Regions from separate parts of the Homo sapiens genome. Here all the other regions are linked to region 4. The links are contacts of gene promoters, found by promoter capture Hi-C in blood cells and fetal thymus (Javierre and others, 2016). All regions are on one chromosome and are shown on one strand. The core of a region is centred on a gene start or on the middle of the fragment in contact, and the rest is flanking DNA. Distances in the headings are between cores, read along the strand shown.

Region 1 (2,892 bases), core at 106-2,605, 340 kb after region 4:
TGAGCAATGGCGCGATCTCGGCTCACTGCAACCTCCGCCTCCCAGGTTCAAACGGTTATTCTGCCTCAGCCTCCCAAGTAGCTGGGATTACAGGTGCCCGTCACCAAGCCCAGCTAATTTTTCATATTTTCAGTAGAGACAGGTTTTCACCATGTTGGCCAGGCTGGTCTCGAACTCCTGACCTCAGGTGATCCACCTGCCTCAGCCTCCCAAAGTGCTGGGATTACAGGTGTGAGCCAATGTGCCCGGCCTAATTTTCTTTTTAATTTTGTAGAGATGGGGTCTTGCTATGTTGTCCAGGCTGGTCCTGAACTCCCAGGCTCAAGCAATCCTCTAGCCTCAGCCTCCCACTGCTGGGATTACAGGCGTGAGCCACCATGCCTGGCCATTGGAAACCATATACTAAGGGGTGTGGAACAAGCTTGGGTCCCTGATGACTGTGGAGTTGCTCTATCAATGCTGGACCTCTTTATCACAAAAGAATAATAAGAATAAACATTTTCCTTGTTTATATCACCGATATCTGGGTGAAATCTACTCCAAATTGCAACAGTTACTAAAGGCTGGGATTAGAATCTGAACCCAAACACATATGATGTTAAAGTCTCACATTCATTCCATTACCTTGCCAGCTTCCCTGACCATGGAAGCAGGTCTGCAACAAGCCCTGGCTCAGCCACTAACACACACAACAAACAAGTACCGACTACAATATATAGGAGTCATATGCTCTTCTAGGTTCCAGCATACAACAGTAAACAAAGACAAAAATCCCTGGGATTTAATTAATATTCTAATAAGGAATGATATACAATTTTTTAAAAATATGTAAAATGTAGGCTGTGTTAATGATAAATACTATAAAGCTAAATAATGCAGAAAATGTAGATAGGGAATGCTAGGAAGAAGGGTTTCAGGATTTGTTGATTTGTTTTTATTGTTTTTGTTTTGTTTTGTTTTTGAGATGGAGTCTTGCTCTGTTGTCCAGTCTGGAGTGCAGTGGTGCGATCTCGGCTAACCACAACTTCCACCTCCCAGGTTCAAGCAATTCTCCTGCCTCAGCCTCCTGAGTAGCTGGGACTACAGGCGTGAGCCATCATGCCCAGCTAATTTTTGTGTTTGTATCAGAGATGTAGTTTCACTATGTTGGCCAGGCTAGTCTCGAACTCCTGACCTCATGATCCACCCTCCTTGGCCTCCCAAAGTGCTGGGATTATAGGCGTGAGCCACTGCACACGGCCTTGCTAATTTTCTGTATTTTTAGTGGAGACGGGATTTTGCCATGTTGGCCAGGCTGGTCTTGAACTTCTGACCTCAGGTGATCCACACACCTCGGCCTCCCAAAGTACTGGGATTACAGGTGTGAGCCACCACACCCAGCCCCTGAAATTTGAATTGAAGACAATTTTTAACATGTCATGAAATGTTATCCTTTTGATTTTTTTTTTTTGCAGCCATTTAAAAATGTATCTTAACATTCTAGTCAAAAACAAAAACAAAAACAAAAACAAAACAGGCAGTAGACTGGATTTGACCTGCAGGCTGTACTCTGCTAACCCCTGCTTTAGACAGATGTACATTTATTCAATTTTTTTCTTAACTTGGTACATTTTTTTAAATGCATGCTAATGATGAACTTCTTAAAGTTACAGTGCTGGTATCTTGACCCACCAAAAAAAAGTGGTTGCAAATCATAGATCCAAAATGTATTTGAGGCAGAAGATTGTTCAGAACAAAAATCACTGAAAAGATACATTTTTAGACATAGCTCCTTTACAATTACTTCTTGATAGACAATGGAATTTAACTCTGCACTTACATTCTAATTCTACTTTGACAACGGAACCATTGGAAAAATGTTGGCGTATATTTCTCCAGTTTTGGTTTTATATTTTCTTTATAACTTAAAAAATCTAATTATCATTCTTTTTTGAGAAGGCACTCAATAAATGCTTTTTGAATGAATGATCCAGTCTGTTAAAACTGAAACATTTGCATTCACCCTGGCTTAGGCAAAATTGTAATGAAAGTTATCTTGAACATGCACAGTCTGCGTTTTTCTCTCTATACGGTATGTCTTCTATTAATGTTGTTTTTAAACAACCTTTTCCCTTTCCTTCTCTTGCTGAGATCTCAATACCCTTGCGATCCCTTCCACTTTTTATTAAAACCTGTGCTTAGGGTGAATAAGAGCGTTACTCTTAGAATATTGTAAATAACTTCTAGCAGCAAACTGTTTTACTACACTGTTGGGCTCATTTGCATTTTAATAGAATGAATGAAGCTTTGCATCTGGCATGTTAATACTCAGGGAGCCAACAGGTGGGGAAAACATTTCTTCCAGGAACCTCAGGTAAACTTCTGCTTCAGAAATCATGTCCCATAAGAAGTCACCTCCTTCACCTATGAGGAAAGACAACCACGCTGTCACTGGGCGGAATGGTCACAGCTGGCCTGTGGTGGAATCATGCATTGTAACAGGCAAAGGCTCCAATCAAGCCTGTCCTCTACCCTAGATCTGGGGCTGATAGCATTCTGCAAGAACAGCCACAAAATAAGAACAGGAATCATCTGCACTTTGGAAACACCAACACACTGAGACCTGTTTTGGAAAAAAACAGTGTCTGAAATGGAAAGCTTAGGGGAGACACTTCAAACTCAAAGAACTCCCTGCTGAGATTTTAAAGCCCCACCACATAAAGAAAAAACCTTGACGTGTTTGACTAGCAATTGACAATTTATGTAAAATATCAACTTTCATATCACCAATATTTATATCGCCTAACTTTTATAAGGAACATAAAATATACACATGACTATTCGACCTGCCAAGAAATGATAGCTTGGTATACTGTCATTGGCCTTGGATCATCGCTTGAATTGAGCAACATA
Region 2 (2,700 bases), core at 97-2,596, 320 kb after region 4:
GAAATATGGAAAGTGAGAGCAAAGCTGACAAGGTCTTAGATGGAAATGAGGAAGTTATTGGGAACTGGAGCAAAGGCCACCCTTGTTACACCCTAGCAAAAAAACTTGGCTGTATTGTGTCCATGCTCTAGGAAATTGCAGAAGTTTGAACTTAAGAATGATGATGTAGGGTATCTGGCAGAAGAAATTTCTAAGCAGCAAATTATTCAAGATGTAGCATGGGCCAGGCGCGGTGGCTCACGCCTGTAATCCCAGCACTTTGGGAGGCCAAGGCGGGTGGATCACGAGGTCAGGAGATCGAGACCATCCTGGCTAACACGGTGAAACCCCGTCTCTACTAAAACTACAAAAAATTAGCCAGGCGTGGTGGCGGGCGCCTGTAGTCCCAGCTACTCGGGAGGCTGAGGCAGGAGAATGGCATGAACCTGGGAGGCAGAGCTTGCAGTGAGCCAAGATAGCACCACTGCACTCTAGCCTGGGCAACAGAGCAAAACTCTGTCTAAAAAAAAAAAAAAAAAAAAGATGTAGCATGGCTGCTTCTAAGAGCCTATATCAGATGAAGGAGCAAAGAAATGACTTAAATAAGTTGGAACTTATATATAAAAGGGAAGCAGAGCATAAAAGTTTGGAAAATTTTCTGCCTGGCTCTGTGGTAGAGAAAGAATCCAAGCAGGCTGTGGACCAACCACTTGCTAAAGAGACTGGCATAACTAAAAGGGAGCCAGGTGCTAATATCCATGACAATGGGAAGAAGGACTTAAAGACATTTCAGAAATCTTTGAGGCAGCCCCTCTCATTACAGGTCAGAGGCCTAGGAGGAAAGAATTATTTCAGGGGCCAGGCACAGGGCATTGCTTCCCTGCTCAGTCTTAGGACCCCACTCTCTGCATCCTGGCCACTCCAGCTCCACCCATGGCTCACAGGGCCATAGGTACAGCTCAAGCTGCCACTTTGGAAAGTGCAAACCACTGTAAGCCTTGGCAGCTTCCACATGGTGTTAAGGCTGCAGGTGTACAAAATGCAAGAGTAAAGGAGGCTTGGCAACTCCCACCTAGATTCCAGAGGATATATGGAAAAGCCTAGATGCCCAGGCAGAAGCCTGCAGTAGGGACAGAGTCCCTACAGAGAAATGCTACTAGGGCAGTACTGAGAGGAAATGTGGGGTTTGAGACCCTACAGAGTCCCCAGCAGGACACTGCCTAGTGGAGCTGTAGGAAGAGGGCCACGAACCTCCAGACCTGAGAATGGTAAAGCCACAGCAGCTTGCAAGCTCAGCATGAAAAAGCCACAGGAACTTAACTCCAGCCCATTAGAGCAGCCACAAATTGCATTCTGTAAAGCCATAAGGGCAAAGCTGCCCAAGGCTTTGGGAACCCACATCTTGCACCAGTATGCCCAGGATACAGGACATGGAGGCAAGGGAAATTATTTTGGAATTTAAAGTTTAATGCCTACCCTGCTGGGTTTCAGACTTGCATGGGGCCAATTGCCTCTTTCTTTTGGCTGATTTCTCCCTTTTGGAATAGAGTGTCTACTCAATGCCTCTACCACCATTGTATCTTGGGTGTAAATAACTTGTTTTGACTTCACAGGTTTGTAGGTAAAAAGAACTCAACTTGAGACTCAGATGTGACTTTGGACTTTTGATTGAATTGATGCTGGAATGAGGTAAGGCTTTGGGGGACTGTTAGAAAGGATGAATGTATTTTATAATGTGAGAAGGACATGAGATTTGAGGGGCCAGAAGGGGAATGATATGGTTTGGGTGTTTGACTCCTCCTAATCTCATGTTGAAATGTAATCCTCAATCTTGGAGGTGGGGCCAAGTGGGAGATATTGGATCATGGGGGCAGATCTTTGATGAATGGCATCACCTTCATGATGAGTGGGTTCTCACTCTGTTAGTTCACCTGAGATCTGGTTATTTTTAAAAGGGCATGGCATTTCCTCCCTCTCTTTCTTGCTCTTGTTCTCTCCATGTGACATGCTGGATCCCGATTGCCTTCCAACATGATTGTAACCTTTCTGAGGCCTCACCAGAAGCAGATGCCAGCACTATGCTTCCTTAAAGCCTGCCAAACCATGAGACAATTAAATCTCTTTTCATTGTAAATCACCCAGCCTCGGGGATTTCTTTATAGCAATGTAAGAATAGACTAATGCATATGTTAAGTGAATTCTTATTTAGAATAGATTAAAAAAATTAGACATTAAAACCATCTGACTAAGACTTGTTTTCCAAGGTGGCTGAATAAGAAGAGCTCCGGTCTGCAGCTCCCAGCATGATCGATGCAGAAGATGGGTGATTTCTGCATTTCCAACTGAGGTACCTGGTTCATCTAATTGGGACTGGTTGGACAGTGGGTGCAGCCCACGGAGGGCGAGCCAAAGCAGGGTGGGGCATTGCCTCACCCGGGAAGCACGAGAGATTGGGGGATTTCCTTTCCCTAGCCAAGGGAAGCCAGGACAGAATGTACCTGGAAAAACAGGACACTCCCGCCCAAATACTGCACTTTTCCCAAGGTCTTAGCAACTGGCAGACAAGGAGATTCTCTCCTGTGCCTGGCTCAGTGGGTCTCATGCCCATGGAGCCTTGCTCACTGCTAGCACAGCAGACTGAGATCAAACAGTGAGGTGGCAGCCTGGCTGGGGGAGGGGCATCTGCCATTGCTGAGGCTTGAGTAGGTAAACAAACTAGCC
Region 3 (2,700 bases), core at 69-2,568, 300 kb after region 4:
TATGCTGTTTTCTACTATGTTCATAATGAAATGAATGGGGAAGAAAAGGGACTAGCCTTTCTCTAGGGAGGTAGTTTTGTGCATGGCTTTGCTTTTATCAGTTTTAATACTAGGCTGAAAAGCCAAAATGAAAAATTTTTTATTATTTTTATTTCTATGCATTTAGAGTTTCAACATGGAGATTCTAAATCCTATACTGATACATTTTAAGGAAGAAATACACAATTGCACCTTTGTATAATCTTTATACATACAATGTAAACATGATGCTACAGAGTAAGCTGTGTTGAAAATTAAAACCCTTCACAGAAGAGTGATGTGTATTAAGCCATCAGGATGCCATTTAATGGCAGGCATCTCCACAGGTAGGTCAACTTCTCCAGGCTACTAGAATGTTTCAGTGGCATTCAATCAACCCAAAGATGTAATGTGTGACTCATGAAGCTTCTTTTCATGGTGGAAAGCTCTGCTGTCAAGTGTTTCACAGCAAAAATATTCAGAATATGTTTATTTTGCTTTTTGGAAATTGTGAAATTTAGTGGCCAGGAAAAAAAAGCACAAGACCTAACTCAAAGGAGGAAAATAATACATTACCATATTTCACTGATTCTAAGATGGCTATTTTAAAACTTCTGTTATCAAGAAGTATTTCATAATTAATGACATCATATTTTAATTAGAAGCACTTTTATTTCTTAGAGGTACGTAAAATAATGGTAAGATTTACAACTGAAGACATTTTGAATTCAGTGAAATATGATATATCCCCAATTTTTCTCCAATTAGTCATTTTTTTCTTTCTACAATCCTTCTAATAAGGAGAACAAAACAATCTAAAATTTCTCTCCAAATAAAGAGATTTACTAGTAACAGGACTGGCTAACACATCTTAAAACCTGGTTTCAATATTAATTAAATAATAGTTATTTCCCATAGATCATCAGGAATATGATTGCTTAAGTATAATGATACTATTAGATCTTACACAATTAAATATTCTATTTAAAATAAATAATCAGAGATTAATGTGTTTGTTCATTTGGTCTTTTGGACTCAGTTTCATGCTGTTGAAGCAACTCAATGTTAAGTTTTTTTATTCTAATAGTATACTTGGCTAGAACATGGAAATGTCCTCTGTAATTATGGTAGACAACAGGTGCTGCAAAAAGAGACTCTGCCCAAACTACCAATAACAAAACTGAACTTCATTGCTATATTCAGGTTACTTTTGGAAAAACAGAATCATGATATATATTTCATTCCCTTTGTTAAAAATTTTCTTAAGATAATTTAGATATGGCTGTAAAATAAGACCTTTCAAAGATTTTAAATTTTTTGTCCCCCTCAAAGAACTAACATTGTAGAGTTATTCAACTTATCACCTCCTGAAAACATTTTTGAACTTTTGTTTTTCTAAATGTTTCTGAAGCCAACATCAAATCTACTCTGATAGTGGATTTATTTTTTAAAACAGTCAAAAGTTACCAGATGCCATCTGTAGGCTAAGATGGATAATCAAATTGCATCAATTTAGTTTTGGTCAGAAATTATTTCATGGATAGCATACCTTGAACCAGAATTTATCATGACAAAAAAAATAATAAATTTACCATTTCAACAGCAGAGACCTTGTCAAAATTCAGAATTTCTCAATTATGATTTACTAGCCATTAGTAAAGAGGTTCTGAGTCGATAATACTAGCAATGACCAATAAGCAAGTCACTGTGGCTTTTTTTTTTTTTTTTTTTTTTTTTTACCAGTGGTTTGCAAGCATGGTTTCCTGGATCTCACAGACGTTGGGCTTTTCAACTGCAGACTTCAATGCTTTGTTTCCAGGTGGCAGGAGAAACATCACATCTCATTACCAACAATTATTTCCCTCAAAGGTAAGTAATTGTATCTAACTTCAATATTCCTTTCCCTGGCCAAAAATTTTACACATTGTTATAAAAATCTTCTTTGTATTCATCACTGTCTTTATATTAATTTTCTAAGTTTCTTCATTTCCTAAAATGTAACCTTCAACCATCATTCTCATCCTCATCATTCTCAGCGGTAACAGCCCATTTAAACAAACTTTTGGACGTTTAAAATATCAGTGGCCTTGTAAATAACTGGATAATTTCTTGACCAATCATCACATTTATCTTTTTACTTCCTCTAAATTTGTTGCACATATCAAAAAGCTTTGTTCTTGATTTTTCTTTGTCACTGTAGAAGTATTTTAATGTGTCAAAACTTTCATCTGCATGTTTCTTTAATTTGCAGTGGATTGATTATTAGCTCTTTGTTCCAAATAACTGTCACTCATTTTAAAATCTTTCCCAAACACAGGTACTATTTCTATTCTACATAATGGGAGAATGTGCCAGTAGGAGACTGCCTGGCCAACTCTGAAAAAAATGCTTTAACAATATGCCCCAGCTAGAATCACTTTTCCTTTATTTCCACAAATCAAATTCAAAATCAAACTCATTATGGTATACCTTATATAACTCGATCATGTTTATAAAATTAGCATTCTTTGGATAGTAAAACACCAGTTAATACTTAATTTGTTTACCCATGCACAAAACTACCTCCCGAGATTAGACTAAGTCCCTTTAAGGATTTTAGGTCTCCATTTTGAGATGTTTTGATTTATAGAAGAAACTGAAAAAAAAATCTAGAAGAAGTCGTTTTCCTCCTTTGTAAACCTG
Region 4 (2,700 bases), core at 31-2,530:
CAGCATGACGGAACCACCCCCATGATCCAATCCCCTCCCTCCCTCAACACATGGGGATTACAATTCGAGATGAGATTTGGTTAGGGACACAGAGCCAAACCATATTAATGTGTGACAAACTCTTGTTCAGTGCCTGGGGTTGTACACTAGATACCAAACATTGGCTGTAACTCCACCATCTTCTCTTCCATGCAAAGAAAGCATATCAAAATGCAACAGAGTGAGAAAGACTATAGGAATTCACTGTATTCACTATAGGAATAACCTTGAATTTAGTCTAAAATCAAAATTAGGATTTGAATCCACATCTAGTGGATGCCAAGTGGTGCTTGCAGATGTCATGCTATATGTGTTACTCCATAACACTGAAAAGTTTATACATAGTAGTAGTATTGTCAGTCTTTTGTAGATTAAAAAAAACTTGATATTCAGAGATTAAATGACATACCCAACATCACACAGCTAGGAAATATCTTTTTAAATATTTAGTCTTGCTTTGTCTGACTCTAAGTGCTTTTCCCACCATATGACACCATTTCACCGTATCATCTCTGGATCCAAATCCATCTTAATCAGACCCAGGAAAAACAATATGACTCCAATTAACCAGAGTACACAGAGATTGGGGAGTTCTGGCTATTGTTTTGGTTAACGAAGACGTAACTCTTGCCTTAATTCATCCAAAAGCTTTCTAACAGTTACCAGTTCACTTTCCACCCTAAGTCAGCACAGTATAATGTAATCTTGCCTTGATGATTCAGGATCTTATGTGTCTCAGAGCCATCATTATGAACAGCAGTTGCTACTAAGAAATTTTGAAGTGAATGCAGGAGATACAGGCGATTGGGTTGAATGCATGGGGAGTTTGGGATTACTTGGAGGACAAATTCAATTATACTGTAATCATCTAACTTTTCTGTAATCAGAATGGAAAAAGGCCCCCAAATGAAGACTAATCAAATGTTTCAGTTGAGTTGGGTTCAAATCAATCAAGTTTACTTCAATTTTTGTAACTAGCTGACCAACTTCATTAAAAGTGACTGTTTTTCTCCTTTTGCCACTTGGTAAATAACAAAAAAAATATGAAGCTTTCCCTGATTCCTGTGTACAGTTGTGTTACCCCATCATCAGGGAGAGAAATGAGCTGTATAATTACTGTTTGAGACATGAATCATCCTTGCTCGGAGGGTCCAGACCTGTTTGACTCTATAAAAGGAGCTCAAGGTCGAAGTGCAAACGTGCACTGTCTGCCATCCCCCAGGCTGATATAATTACCAAGCTACTGTGAGGGGATGAAGGTGCTCCCTGCATCTGGCCTTGCTGTCTTCCTCATCATGGCTTTGAAGTTTTCCACTGCAGCCCCCTCCCTAGTTGCAGCCTCCCCCAGGACCTGGAGGAACAACTACCGCCTCGCACAGGTTTGTGAATTTTTGCCCAATTCCTTCTTGCTCCTCTGCCCTAGAAAACCTAAAAGGGCATAGTGAGAAAATAAGAAAAAAATTCTATTGTTCTTTTAAAATCATTTTATATAAGTCCATTGAAGTCTAACTGATGCTATCTTCTGTCCACCTAGATTGGTGTCTGGTGCATATTAGGTGTACCATGTTACATGACTGAATAAATACATGAGGATATATCTACCTAGCTATCTTGCTTCATAAAGAATTCCAGGTGGCTTGTGAAAACCATGCAATATAAAAGGAGCAAACAAGTACTTCCCGGGAATGATGTAGGAGGAAAAATAGAAGCAGAAAAATAAAAACCGAGGCATAATCCACACGCTAGAGGCAGGTTGTGAATTTAGTGCTAAGCTTTAGCGGTCACAACAAGGAGATTTCCTGTGTTTCCACTTTTTAAATGGCTCTTATATTCAAGGTAACCCTGATCAAAATTTAAAGTGGACTAAGTTCTTCCTGGGTGCCAACCCACTTCTCATTTGAAGGCCTTTTCTCCCTAAAGCATATTCCCCAATGAAGTAAAAGTTTATGTACAAAGTACATAACAAAGTTTATGTAGTAAGTACAAAGTACAACGTTTATGTACTTAAACTTTGTGTATTTTCCTCTTTTGAGATCTCTCCTCTATGACTGCTGGAAAGGGTCTGATAGAAATGATCCATATTCAAATATTTCACAAAGACTGCTTGACTCAAAATGATTTCTACATATATATATATATATATATATATATATATATATATATATATATATGCTTCCAAGCGTGTTTTGTTTTTAAAAGAAGGGTGGCATCCTTAACCTAAAGAAATGGATGTCTACGGATGGAATTTCCAACATTAGTGAAAGATATATAGAGGAAATGCTTTTGCACACAGGCCTCCCTTTCAAGAGTCTGCCAACATTACAGCACATCTGTGATCACCAGCTCCGCCTCAGGGCTGCTTTCCTGACTGCCAGGCTGCACCTGTGTACCGCTTGGCTGTCTGCATCGTAGAGCTGATTTGCACCCATGTGCAATGGCATGTCCCTACCGATTGTTTCTGCCACTCATCCTTATTAACTGGTCAGTTCCCCGGCCATACCAGTCATTAAACACTTAAATATCAGCCCCGCAGATGAACAGCACAGCTGATGCCCAGCACAACCATGTTGAACTGAACTTCTTTTGACTTTAGCCCACTTTTAGATGAACTAAATTCAAAATAACTCAGGATACTGGGATCCTTATTCAATTGTATTTTGT

The links. The method cuts DNA at HindIII sites, captures the fragments that hold promoters and counts their contacts. A CHiCAGO score of 5 or more calls a contact.
Region 1: a fragment that was not itself captured here is called in contact with the fragment with the promoter of MMP20 in region 4 in 16 of 17 cell types (naive CD8 T cells, naive B cells, non-activated CD4 T cells and 13 more); the score reaches 21.9 in naive CD8 T cells.
Region 2: a contact is called between a fragment that was not itself captured here and the fragment with the promoter of MMP20 in region 4, in 4 of 17 cell types (M0 macrophages, megakaryocytes, M2 macrophages and 1 more). The highest score is 9.1, in M0 macrophages.
Region 3: a contact is called between a fragment that was not itself captured here and the fragment with the promoter of MMP20 in region 4, in 12 of 17 cell types (M1 macrophages, M0 macrophages, M2 macrophages and 9 more). The highest score is 15.6, in M1 macrophages.

Annotation. Positions count from the first base shown.
Region 1 is chr11:102,280,039-102,282,930 of GRCh38, reverse strand. It overlaps LOC105369460 (a long non-coding RNA gene), which reads right to left. Exons shown (of 5, transcript XR_007062863.1): 5 at 1,692-2,892. Among named protein-coding and RNA genes, the nearest start is that of BIRC3, 36 kb to the left of the region's middle. The HindIII fragment of the contact is 1,863 bases long and covers 424-2,286 here.
Region 2 is chr11:102,301,033-102,303,732 of GRCh38, reverse strand. No RefSeq gene overlaps it. Among named protein-coding and RNA genes, the nearest start is that of BIRC3, 15 kb to the left of the region's middle. The HindIII fragment of the contact is 3,302 bases long and covers 1-2,700 here.
Region 3 is chr11:102,321,834-102,324,533 of GRCh38, reverse strand. It overlaps BIRC3 (baculoviral IAP repeat containing 3), which reads right to left. Exons shown (of 9, transcript NM_001165.5): 2 at 1-2,697. The coding sequence starts at 24. Among named protein-coding and RNA genes, the nearest start is that of BIRC3, 5.7 kb to the right of the region's middle. The HindIII fragment of the contact is 1,743 bases long and covers 447-2,189 here.
Region 4 is chr11:102,623,912-102,626,611 of GRCh38, reverse strand. It overlaps MMP20 (matrix metallopeptidase 20), which reads left to right and starts at 1,280. Exons shown (of 10, transcript NM_004771.4): 1 at 1,280-1,418. The coding sequence starts at 1,293. The HindIII fragment of the contact is 723 bases long and covers 1,091-1,813 here.